Linked DNA regions of Homo sapiens: all the other regions are linked to region 4. Evidence: promoter capture Hi-C in human tissues and cell types (Jung and others, 2019). All regions are on one chromosome and are shown on one strand. Each heading gives the region's core, a stretch centred on a gene start or on the middle of the fragment in contact. The rest is flanking DNA. Distances are from core to core; before and after follow the strand shown. Region 1 overlaps ZNF77 (zinc finger protein 77). Region 2 overlaps THOP1 (thimet oligopeptidase 1). Region 3 overlaps SGTA (small glutamine rich tetratricopeptide repeat co-chaperone alpha). Region 4 holds the start of ZNF556 (zinc finger protein 556).

Region 1 (2,700 bases), core at 17-2,516, 73 kb before region 4:
CTGGCTAATTTTTGTATTTTTAGTAGCGGTGCGGTTTCACCATGTTGGCCAGGCTGCTCATGAACTCCTGACCTCAAGTGATCCTCCCGCCTTGGCCTCCCAAAGTGCTGAGATTACAGGTGTGAGCCACCTCACCCAGCCTTTTTTTTTTTTTTTTTTTTTGAGGTAGGGCGTCTCTCTGTCACCCACGCTGGAGTGCAGTGGTGACATCGTGGCTCACTACAGCCTCAACCTCCTGGGCTCAAATGATCCTCCCACCTCAGCCTCCTGAGTAGCTGGGACTCCAGGTGTGCCCCACCATGCCTGGCTAATTTTTGTATTTTTTGTAGAGACAGGGTTTCACCATATTGCTCAGGCTGGTCCCAAGCTTCTGGGCTCAAACAGTCCTCCCACCTCAGTCTCCCAAAGTGCTGGGAGTATAGGCCTGAGCCACCAAGCCCAGCTGCTGATAGCATTTTATTATAAAATTGAACACATGTAGAACTTTTGTAAGACAATTACAGAGTCAGTGGAAACGTCCTCAAGTGAACAGTGTGTAACGACAGCCAGGCCATGTCTTCGAAGAAGCCTTGGCATCCAATTTGAAATGATGTGTAATGGTAGGCTTCTCCCTCCAGATCAGGCCAGTATTCTACATTCTTTTTTTTTTTTTTTTTTTCTTTTTTGTGATGGAGACTCACTCTGTTGCTAGACTGGAGTGCAATGGCGCCATCTCGGCTCACTGCAACCTCTGCCTCCTGGGTTCAAGTGATTCTCCTGCCTCAGCCTCCTGAGTAGCTGAGACTACAGGCGTGTGCCACCACGCCCAGCTAATTTTTGTATTTTTAGTAGAGATGGGGTTTCACCATGTTGGCCAGGATGGTCTTGATCTCTTAACCTTGTGATCCGCCCACCTTAGCCTCCCAAAATGCTAGGATTATAGGCGTGAGCCACCACGCCCGGCCTATCCTAAATTCTTTTAGCCTTTTTTTTTTTGGTAGAGACAGGGTTTCACTGTGTTGTCCAGGGTGATCTCGAACTCCTGAACTCAAGTGATCTGCCTGTCTTGGCCTCCCAAAGTGTTGGAACTACAGGCGTGAACCACCACACCTGGCCAATATCCTAAATTATAAGGAAATAATCTCCTTGCTTTTCTTCATAGTTGTATTTTTAAAATTTAATTTAATTTAATTTTTTTTTTTAAGAGACAGGGTCTTTGCTCTGTCACCCAGGCTCGTCTTGAACTCCTGGCCTCAAGCGATCTTCTCACCTTGGCCTCCCAAAGTGCTGATATTATAGCTGAATAAGAAATAATAAAATTTGAGCAAGTCATGTCAATTTCCATGTTACCTGAATGATTGATTTATTTTATTTTTTTGAGATTGGGTCTCACTCTGTGGCCCAGACAGGAGTGCAGTGGCACAGTCATAGTTCACTGCAGCCTTGAACCCCCGAGCTCAAGCGATTGTCCCTCCTCACCCTCCTAAGTAGCCGGGACTACAGGTGTGTACCACCATGGCTGGTTAATTTATTGTATTTTATTTTTTTTGTAGAGACGGGATCTCACTATGCAGCCCAGGCTGGTCGCCAACTCCTGGCCCTAAGCAATCCTCGCACCTGAGCCTCTCAAAGTACTGGGATTGCAGGCATGAGCCACCAGCCTTAGCTTAATGATGTTTTCAGATTTTTCAGTGTTTCCCCACCCTCATACCTGCCGTTTCTCAGTAATTCTTTGTAAGTCTCTGGCAGAGGCCGTCATTGCGCTTTGCTCCCTGTTGGGAAGGTACTCACGGCATTGAGTGTACTGCACTTTTTCATACTGTTGGTCACCTCTCACAAGGACATAAGCTCTGTGTGGCTCAGTTCCCCAGGCTGTCAGCCTCACCCCTCTTCCTGCGCACATGGGGGAGGCGGTGCCTTTGCTGAAGTGGGATGTGTGGAATGTTTTAGGACTGCGTGATCTTTGAGGAAGTGGCTGTGAACTTCACCCCAGAAGAGTGGGCATTGCTGGATCATGCTCAGAGGAGCCTCTACAGAGATGTGATGCTGGAGACCTGCAGGAACCTTGCCTCCTTGGGTAAGGGTGGTGTCATTCCCTCACTGCCTCCTTGGGTAAGGGTGGCGTCATTCCCTCACTGCCTCCTTGGGTAAGGGTGGCGTCATTCCCTCACTGCCTCCTTGGGTAAGGGTGGCGTCATTCCCTCACTGCCTCCTTGGGTAAGGGTGGCGTCATTCCCTCACTGCCTCCTTGGGTAAGGGTGGCGTCATTCCCTCACTGCCTCCTTGGGTAAGGATGGCGTCATTCCCTCACTGCCTCCTTGGGTAAGGGTGGCATCATTCCCTCACTGCGTCCTGGAGAGCAAAGAGACCTTGGTTTTCTTTTTTTTTTTTTTTATTTTTTTGAGACGGAGTCTTGCTCTCTCGCCCAAGCTGGAGTGCAGTGGCACGATCTCGGCTCACTGCAAGCTCCGCCTCCCGGGTTCATGCCATTCTCCTGCCTCAGCCTCCTGAATAGCTGGGACTACAGGTGCCCACCACCACGCCTGGCTAATTTTTTGTAGCTTTAGTAGAGATGGGGTTTCACCGTGTTAGCCAGGATGGTCTCGATCTCCTGACCTCGTGATCCGCCCGCCTTGGCCTCCCAAAGTGCTGGGATTACAGGCGTGAGCCACCGCGCCCGGCCTAAGATACCTTGTTTTTCTTTTTATTTGAGCTCAAAAA
Region 2 (2,700 bases), core at 115-2,614, 72 kb after region 4:
GCAGCACTCCCTGAACCCAGCACTCCTGATGCCCCAAGCACTCCCTGAGCCGAGCACTCCCCGAGCCCAGCACTCCCCCTGCCCTGCGCTTCTTGCTCCCACCACTCCCTGGGACTGAGCACTCCCTGTGCCCAGCACTCCCCGGGATCGACCATTGCCCACGCCCAGCACTCCCTACACCCAGCACTCACTTCCTGAGTCTCTCTGGGGAGGTGAAGCCCATTTCTCCGGCCCAGCTTGATTAGCCGCTCCAGGTACCGCGCAGCCTCGGGCCTCAGTGAGTCCTTCTGAACTTTCTCCTGGAATAAAAACATCAAAGCATGTAGGACGTGGGCCAGTGCAGCCGCTCCAAAGAGCAGTTTGGCAGTTTCTTAAAAACCTGATCATCCGGCCCCCGTGTGACTTGGCAACTGCACTCCTGGGCATTTATCTCAGAGAAATGACGACCTGTCTCTACATAAAACCTGTGCAAACGTTCGCTTTGTTTGGAAGAGCCCCACACTGACATCAGTCCAGAGCTCCTTCACCAGTGCGATGGCTGAATGGGAATTAGATTGCTGGTGGTCTCCAGGTCGGTATCGGGGTGTAGATGACACCATAGTTTTGCAAAACGTCATCACTGGGGACCTGGGCAAAGTTGGCAAAGGCATTCGATTCTTTCCTGCACCTGCATGGGAACCTCTCATTGTCTCAACAGAAACTCTGGAAAGTGGAGGTGGGAGGATTGCGTGGGCCCAGGAGTTCGAGACAAGCGTGGGCAACGTTGTGAGACCCTGTCTGTATTTAAATAAAAAGAAATAACAATCCACGGCTATCATGGGTCACCCTGATCTGGATTTACCAAAGCACTAGGGCTGCATGATCCTGAGACTGTGGGACACATCAGCACATTCCCAGGGGTCCTCGCCTAAGAGGATGAACAGCAGCAGGAGGGTCTCTGGGTCTCTCCTGATCATGTGACATCAACAGCAAAGGCCCCACTGCATACTGCGAGGAGCATCCGGGGGAGCAGGAGCCCACGCAGCCATGCCGCCAGGCCCTGCCAGCTCACGCCATGTGGGGATGGGGTGTTTGGGTCACACTAGGATGGCCAGGAAAGGAAATGAAAGTGCACATGTGTGGCCGGGCGTGGTGGCTCAGGCCTGTGATCCCAGCACTTTGGGAGGCCAAGGCGGGCGGATCACCTGAGGTCAGGAGTTTGAGAACAGCCTGACCAACATGGCAAAACCCTGTGCCTACTAAAAATACAAAAAATGGGCCGGGCACAGTGGCTCACACCTGTCATCCCAGCACTGTGGGAGGCCGAGGTGGGCGGATCACTTGAGGTCAGGAGTTCGAGACTAGCCTGACCAACACGTTGAAACCCCGTCTCTACTAAAAATACAAAAATTAGCCGGGTGTGGTGGCGGGCGCCTGTAATCCTAGTTACTTGGGAGGCTATTTGCACTCCCCGCAGGGCCCCCTCACCTGGAGCCACACGATCCTCTGGTACACGTCCTCCCTCATGCTCATCTCCACGTCGAACTCAGAGAGCTTCTTGTCGGCCTCTGTGCTGGCTGTCCGGATGTCCTTGGAGGGGGAAACATGCTGGGGGAAGTCAAGGATATTCCTCTGAACTAAAACAGGGGAGACCAGGGAGACAGGTGTGAGAACAGGCCCCAGTACAACTGGCAGGTGTTGCCCGGACCCCTCTCCCAGGCCTGTCTGCTGAATCCCCCCGTGAACTCTCTCCTGCCTCAGCCTCCCAAGTAGCTGGGACTAGAGGCACACGCCACCGTCCCCTCCAGGCTGGGCCCTGGGATGGAGAAAGGAGGTGCTGTTGCCTGTGTCCTTGGAGATCTTACAGACCGAAGAAAAATAAGGATTCAACTCAAAGCCCTCCAAGCCAAGGAGGACCCAACAGAGCTGGGTACGACGAAACAGAGGCTGACGGAATTCCATTCCAGAGAGAGCTGCAGCTGCCGATGGTCACATTTAAATGCATAAACTACTTACAATTTCCTGAGCACATCTGTGCTTTAGGTTGAGTAGAGGAAGTGTCAGTGGCTAGAAAAGCATAAGCTTTAGGCCAGGTGTGGTGGCCAAGCCTGTAATCCCAGCCCTTTGGGAGGCCGAGGCAGGCAGATCACTTGAGGTCAGGAGTCCGAGACCAGCCTGGCCAACAAGGTGAAACCCCATCTCTACTAAAAATACAAAAATTAGCCAGGCGTGGTGGCGCGTGCCTGTAATTCCAACTACTTGGGAGGCTGAGGTAGGGGAATAGCTTGAACCCGGGAGGTGGAGGTTGCAGCGAGTTGAAATGGTACCACTGCACTCCAGCCTGGGCGACAGAGTGAGGCTCCATCTCAAAAAAGAAAAAAAAAGAAAAAAAAAAAAGCTTTAAAATGGAGTCATCCCATGACCCCCAAGACTCCAGTGCCAGGATCCAGCCAGGAGACATGAACACACATCCACACAGGAATCTGCACACGTGCACTCACAGCAGCGCGATTCACAATTGACAAAAGGTCCATCCACGAGTGAATGGACTGACAAGATGTGGCCTCTGCCCAGTGGAACACGACTCAGCCATGAAAAGGAATGAGGCTCTGGAACAGGCTGCGGTGTGGATGCAGCCCGATGATGTCACATGCAGAGAAAGAAGCCAGACACAAAAGTCACACAGTGTGTGATGCCATTTGTTTTTTTTTGAGACGAAGT
Region 3 (2,700 bases), core at 28-2,527, 110 kb after region 4:
CGGTGCTGCTTGAGCACGGGTGTGCAATCGTCTGTGTGAATCCTGTTTTCGTTTCTCTTGGATATAAACTTCTGAGTGCACTCGCTGGCTCATAGGGTCACTCCCCAGTAAGCGCTGTGCGCACTGGGGAGCTGCTCACCTGTTTTCATGGTGAAATCTTTTTTTCTTTCTCCTTTTTTTTTTTTTGAGACAGAATCTTGCTCTGTCACCCAGGCTGGAGTGCAGTGGCAGAATCTTGGCTCACTGCAACCTCTGCCTCCCGGGATCAAGTGGGTCTTCCCAAGTAGCTGGAATTACAGGCATCCACCACCATGCCCGGCTGATTTTTGCATTTTTAGTAGAGATGGGGTTTCACCATGTTGGCCAGGCTGGTCTTGAACTCCTGACCTCAGGTGATCCACCCGCCTCAGCCTCCCAAAGTGCAGGGATGACAGGTGTGAGCCACCGCGGCTGGCCCACGGTCAAATCTTAAAGCATGGTTTCCCAGCCACAGCACCGTGGCCATTTGAGCTGGACCAGTTTCTGGAGCAGGGCCGTCCTGGGCACTGCAGGGTGCTGAGCACTGTCTCTAGCCTCCATCCACTCCATGCCAGGAGCACCCCCTGCCCCTGTCTTGGCGTAACCCAATCATGGCTGTTGCAAATGTCCGCTGCCATTGCAGGGGTCCTCTGGGGGCAGGATCACCCCCTGGCTGAGAACTACGCTCTTTAGGCCAAAGAAAGAGGGGTGTTCTGGGAAAGCAGGTGAAAGTCACAGGGTGGGTTTGGGCCCTGGAGGCCCACCAGGTGGTGAGAGAGAATCCTCTCCTGCAGGGGAAGGTGAAGGGCTGAGAGGGATTCTCTCCCGGGCCACTGCGAGGGCCTGCAGTGGGGGTGGCGGTCAGGCTGTCCCGGCTGCGAGTCACGCGCTCTCTCCTGCAGCATGTCCGGCATGATTTCGGGTGGCAACAACCCCTTGGGAACTCCCGGCACCAGCCCCTCGCAGAACGACCTGGCCAGCCTCATCCAGGCGTGAGTGGAACTGCTTCCAAGAGGACGGAGGACGTGGGCGGCGGGCAGGGCTCGCAGGCGGAAGGGAAGGAGGAGAGCGAAAGTGCTGCGTCCCCTGCTCCGAAGGGCCCAGCGTCCTCCAGCGAGGGGTCAGGCCTGTCTTTGGGGTGGAGGGCCCGAGGGGTCAGCTGGGGATGGACGGAGGCAGCAGGCAGCCTCCTGGCCCTGGCTGAGCCCCATGTGCCCTTCCCCGCAGGGGCCAGCAGTTTGCCCAGCAGATGCAGCAGCAGAACCCAGAGTTGATAGAGCAGCTCAGGAGCCAGATCCGGAGTCGGACGCCCAGCGCCAGCAACGACGACCAGCAGGAGTGACGCTGCGTGAGTGCATGGGGCCGGGGGCTGGGGGGTGGCCAGCAGGAGTGACACCACGTGAGTGCCTGGCAGTGAGGGCAGCCAGCAGGAGTGACGCCCGGGGGCTGTGGAGCCTGTCTGGACACTGGACAGCGAGTCCTGGGTGCATCCAGCTCAGAAGATCACCCTGAACCGCCCAGGCAGGTGGGGGCATCTCTGGGCATTGGGCCCCTTTCCAGGTGGCCACCAAGTCCTGCTCCCCACTCCTTTCCCATCTGTGGATCGGCGCTGGGTGGAGATTAGGGGAGAGCCACAGCTCCCTGGAAGGGCTGGTGTCTGGGGTCCCCCCTGCCTAAGGCCGCCTGCAGAAGCTCTTTGTTTCTGCAGTGTCGGGGCTGCCACCTCGGGGGTGGGGGCGAGGTCATCGAGTGGTGGAAAGGACAAGCCGGGTACCTGCCTTTGACTGCGCCCGAGCGTTCTGCCTGCATTTTGTGAGGGATTTTTTGTCCTTTTCTCACTGTGAGCAGGTGTTGCACTTACAGTTGTTTAAAAATACACTCAGTGTCCCCCATGGGTTCCAGGGGCCCGTGGCTGGCTTGGTTTCCTTCCCCAGGGGCCCCTGAGTTCAGTCCTGTCCGTCTCCAGCAGACACCGGCTTCCCAGGGGTGGGAGGCTCCCCTGAGTTCAGTCCTGTCTGTCTCCAGCAGACGCCGGCTCCCTGGGGGCGGGAGGCTCCGGGCCTCCCCAGAGGTGTTTCCATTCTGCTCCCATGTGGCCTCTTCATTTTGTCGTTGTCCCCTCCTCATATACACTCTCTTTCATTTTTAAACCATAATTACTGTAGACAAATTTAAAATACAAAAATGTTAAAAAGCAGCAAGAACAATCTTAATCTTTTTTTTTTTTTTTTGAGACCGTCCTGCTCTGTCCCCCCGGCTGGAGGGCAGTGGTGCAGTCACGTCTCACTGCAGCCTCAACCTCCTGGGCTCAAGCGATCCTCCCGCCTCGGCCTCCCAAAGTGTGAGCCGTGCATTCAGCCCAACCTTAATCTTCTCACCCAGAGCCACCAACATTAATATTTTGGCCGCCTTTTCTTCCAGTCTTCCCTTTTTTTTTTAAATAAGCTTTTATTTATTTTTCCTTTTCTTTTTTTAATAGTTGAGGTGGATTTTTTACCACCGTAACCTCATACACAAAGTACCACCATACTGTAGACCCTTCTAGGTCATGGCGATGTTCTCTGCGCCACCAGCCACACGTGGCCCCGAGTGTGTGGAACGCTTCTGGTGCAGCTGTGGCTCTGACGTTCGTTGAAATAGCCGCTGTGGCCCCTGGCTGTCCACTCTGGGCCTCTCCTGCTG
Region 4 (2,700 bases), core at 30-2,529:
AAAACCCTGTCTCCACTAAAAATACAAAAATTAGCTGGACGTGGTGGCACACACCTGTAGTCCCAGCTGCTGGGGAGGCTGAGGCAGGAGAATCAATCGCTTGAACTCAGGAGGCGGAGGTTGCAGTGAGCCGAGATCGCGCCACTGCACTCCAGCCTGGGTGACAGAGCAAGACTCCGTTTCAAAAAATAAAAACAAAAAATAAAAGAACAGAATTATCATCTATCACAAATTCTCCATCCTGGAAAAGGAGAATAACTGATATTTTAGCGAGTTTTTGTAATTCACCAAATTATATACCAAACATTTTTTTCTTGTAGGAATGTATTCATTTCGGGGCGTGTCATAATAAAAGAGAGATTTTCTCTCTTTCTCTGCGATTCTTTTTCCCGGGAGCCCCGTCAAGGGCTAAGCCCTGGAATCCCATTTGTCATCACCGAAAATAAAACAACAGATGTGAGAAACTTAACCACACGGGCAAAAAAGGAACAGAAAATAAAAAGAAAAAAAAAAGGCACGCTAGAATTTTTAACAAATGGAATGTAAGACGAGAACTTTATTTTTTTCTGAAATTCACCTCCTTGGAAATATTTTATCTTTCAAACTCTATTATTTACTGTATGTTCCATTGACTGAAAAAATCTGAGGCTCAAGTAACCAAATCAATCTTTAGAAGGAGAGAGGCCCAGGCAGGGGCGGCTGGGCTGGAGTCCGGCCTGCGGGCCTTTGGGGTCAGGCCAGCCCGTGCCGCCACGTGGAGCGCCCGCACCACCTGTCCACCCCTCGCCCCTCCCAGGGACGTGGGCCTGGGCCCAAAGTCTGCATCCAAAGCGCATTCTGCTTTGGGGCTGTTGCACCGCCTCGCTGGGGTGAGGTTTTTTTTTTTTTTGTTTTGTTTTTTGTACTTTGGGTTAGTTTTTCTTCCAATTAACTTCGCGAGACCCCACAGGGCAGGAGTCATTTCTGCCTTTTTTTCCCCTCCATCCCAGCGTCCTGACAACTACGACTTTCCAGGGAATGAAGACTGGGGCAGGGGAGGAAACTCCCCGCAGGACCCGGGGGTGACACAGGGACAGAGGCTGCATGGGGGTTCCGGGCGGCTCCCCCGGGAGTTTCAGCGTGTTCTGGCCGCTTCCAACCCTCCCCTCCCAGGGCTCCGGCTCCGGCTCGGCTCCTGCCCTGCACTCACCATGTCCTGTCCGTTCCTGAGCTCTTTGAGGAGCTCCCTGCTCCTCGCAGCCGGTGCAGGTGAGCACGACGGGGACACCTGTGGTCACTCAGGGCAGGCCGGGTGTGCTCTGCAGGGAGGACAGCAACGCCCCGCCCCTGGGGCTGTGATTGGATGGTTCTCTTCTCTGCTCATCTCTGATTGGAGAGTTCACCAGTCACATCCCAACTCCCCTGATTGGACAGTTCTTTAGACTCTGCCCCTCCTCTTCTGGTTGGTCAGCTTGCTATCCCCTGAGCTCCCCTGATTGGGCAGTTCTTCAGGCCCCACCCCAGCTTTCCTAATTGGTCATGTTTCCACGCCCTGCCTCAGCTCCTTTGATTTGACAGGTCTCCAGGCTCTGCCCCAACCCCCCTGATTGACAGTTCTCATCCGGATGCTCCACCTCAACTCCCCTGATTGGTCAGTTCTCTAGGCCCCACCCCAGCTGCCTGATTGGTCAGTTTTCAGGTCTCGGGTCCTGCAGGCAGCAGCCCCCATCCACGGTGGTCTCCTTCCTGAAATGAAAGTGGTACTGACTTAGAGGGAAACCTGGGCCCTTGGGGTATCCACCGTAGAAAAAAGCAGCTTCTTCTGTCCTCAGTCTGTTGTCAGATTCCATGACACTGGAGGAGGTCCCCTCTCTCTCCTGACCAGTAGACACCTGGGGAGGCCCATGGGGTCAAGTGAGTGACCAACGAAAGCTTTACCATTCCCTAACTAGGGTCAGCACAATTGCTAGAACTGAACTCTTGAGCCATTAGCAATGGTCTAGCCAGCCGGGCGCGGTGGCTCATGCCTGTAATCACAGCACTTTGGGAGGCCAAGGTGGGTGGATCACCTGAGGTCAGGAGTTTGAGACCAGTGTGGCCAACATGATGAAACCCTGTCTTTACTAAAAATACAAAAAATTAGCCGGGTGTGGTGGTGGGTGCCTGTAATCCCAGCTACTCGGAGGCTAAGGGGGAAGAATCGCTTGAACCTGGAAGGCGGAGGTTGCAGTGAGCTGAGATTGCCCCACTGCACTCAGCCTAGGCAACAAGAGGGAAACTCCGTCTCAAAAACAACAACAACAACAAAAACATAGAAAACAAAACAAAACAAAAAAACCGAAAACACACTTAAAAAAAACTGTGGCAACAACTGTATCCTAGGTCAATATTTTGAGGTTAAAGCACTCTGGGGATATTTTGCCTCACAGTTTCTCAAGTAAAAATCAAGGTCACGAATATCTGTGTACCTATGAAAACTCAAACACCACAGCTGAGCGCTCAATGTGCAGGCAGATGAATAGTCTACAGGCAAATGACATATAATCAAGGAGGCATAATCCCTGGAAGCCTGTTGGTAGGGCTGAGAGCAAATAGATTTTATAGGGTCCCCGCCCACCTTTGCAGAGGCTATTCCGTATACTGTGATCACGGAAGCCACTTAAATGCAAATATTCCTTACCAATCCCACCAGACGTTCTCCTGCTGAGCCACAATACAGGG

Evidence for each region. The method cuts DNA at HindIII sites, captures the fragments that hold promoters and counts their contacts. A contact is called where the count stands out against the background at its distance.
Region 1: a fragment that was not itself captured here is called in contact with the fragment with the promoter of ZNF556 in region 4 in 2 of the 25 tissues and cell types used here (adrenal gland and pancreas).
Region 2: a fragment that was not itself captured here is called in contact with the fragment with the promoter of ZNF556 in region 4 in 2 of the 25 tissues and cell types used here (dorsolateral prefrontal cortex and mesenchymal stem cells).
Region 3: a fragment that was not itself captured here is called in contact with the fragment with the promoter of ZNF556 in region 4 in 11 of the 25 tissues and cell types used here (adrenal gland, bladder, dorsolateral prefrontal cortex and 8 more).

What each region holds. Positions count from the first base shown.
Region 1 is chr19:2,938,637-2,941,336 of GRCh38, reverse strand. It overlaps ZNF77 (zinc finger protein 77), which reads left to right. Exons shown (of 4, transcript NM_021217.3): 2 at 1,930-2,056. Among named protein-coding and RNA genes, the nearest start is that of ZNF77, 5.0 kb to the left of the region's middle. The HindIII fragment of the contact is 4,202 bases long and covers 1-2,700 here.
Region 2 is chr19:2,793,680-2,796,379 of GRCh38, reverse strand. THOP1 (thimet oligopeptidase 1) reads right to left here. Exons shown (of 13, transcript NM_003249.5): 3 at 1,468-1,616; 4 at 192-299. Among named protein-coding and RNA genes, the nearest start is that of THOP1, 9.5 kb to the right of the region's middle. RefSeq lists an enhancer at 1-356. The HindIII fragment of the contact is 3,628 bases long and covers 1-2,700 here.
Region 3 is chr19:2,756,003-2,758,702 of GRCh38, reverse strand. SGTA (small glutamine rich tetratricopeptide repeat co-chaperone alpha) reads left to right here. Exons shown (of 12, transcript NM_003021.4): 10 at 921-1,010; 11 at 1,246-1,366. The coding sequence ends at 1,360. Among named protein-coding and RNA genes, the nearest start is that of SLC39A3, 17 kb to the right of the region's middle. The HindIII fragment of the contact is 7,304 bases long and covers 1-2,700 here.
Region 4 is chr19:2,865,914-2,868,613 of GRCh38, reverse strand. It overlaps ZNF556 (zinc finger protein 556), which reads right to left and starts at 1,279. Exons shown (of 4, transcript NM_024967.3): 1 at 1,190-1,279. The coding sequence starts at 1,192. The HindIII fragment of the contact is 10,595 bases long and covers 1-2,700 here.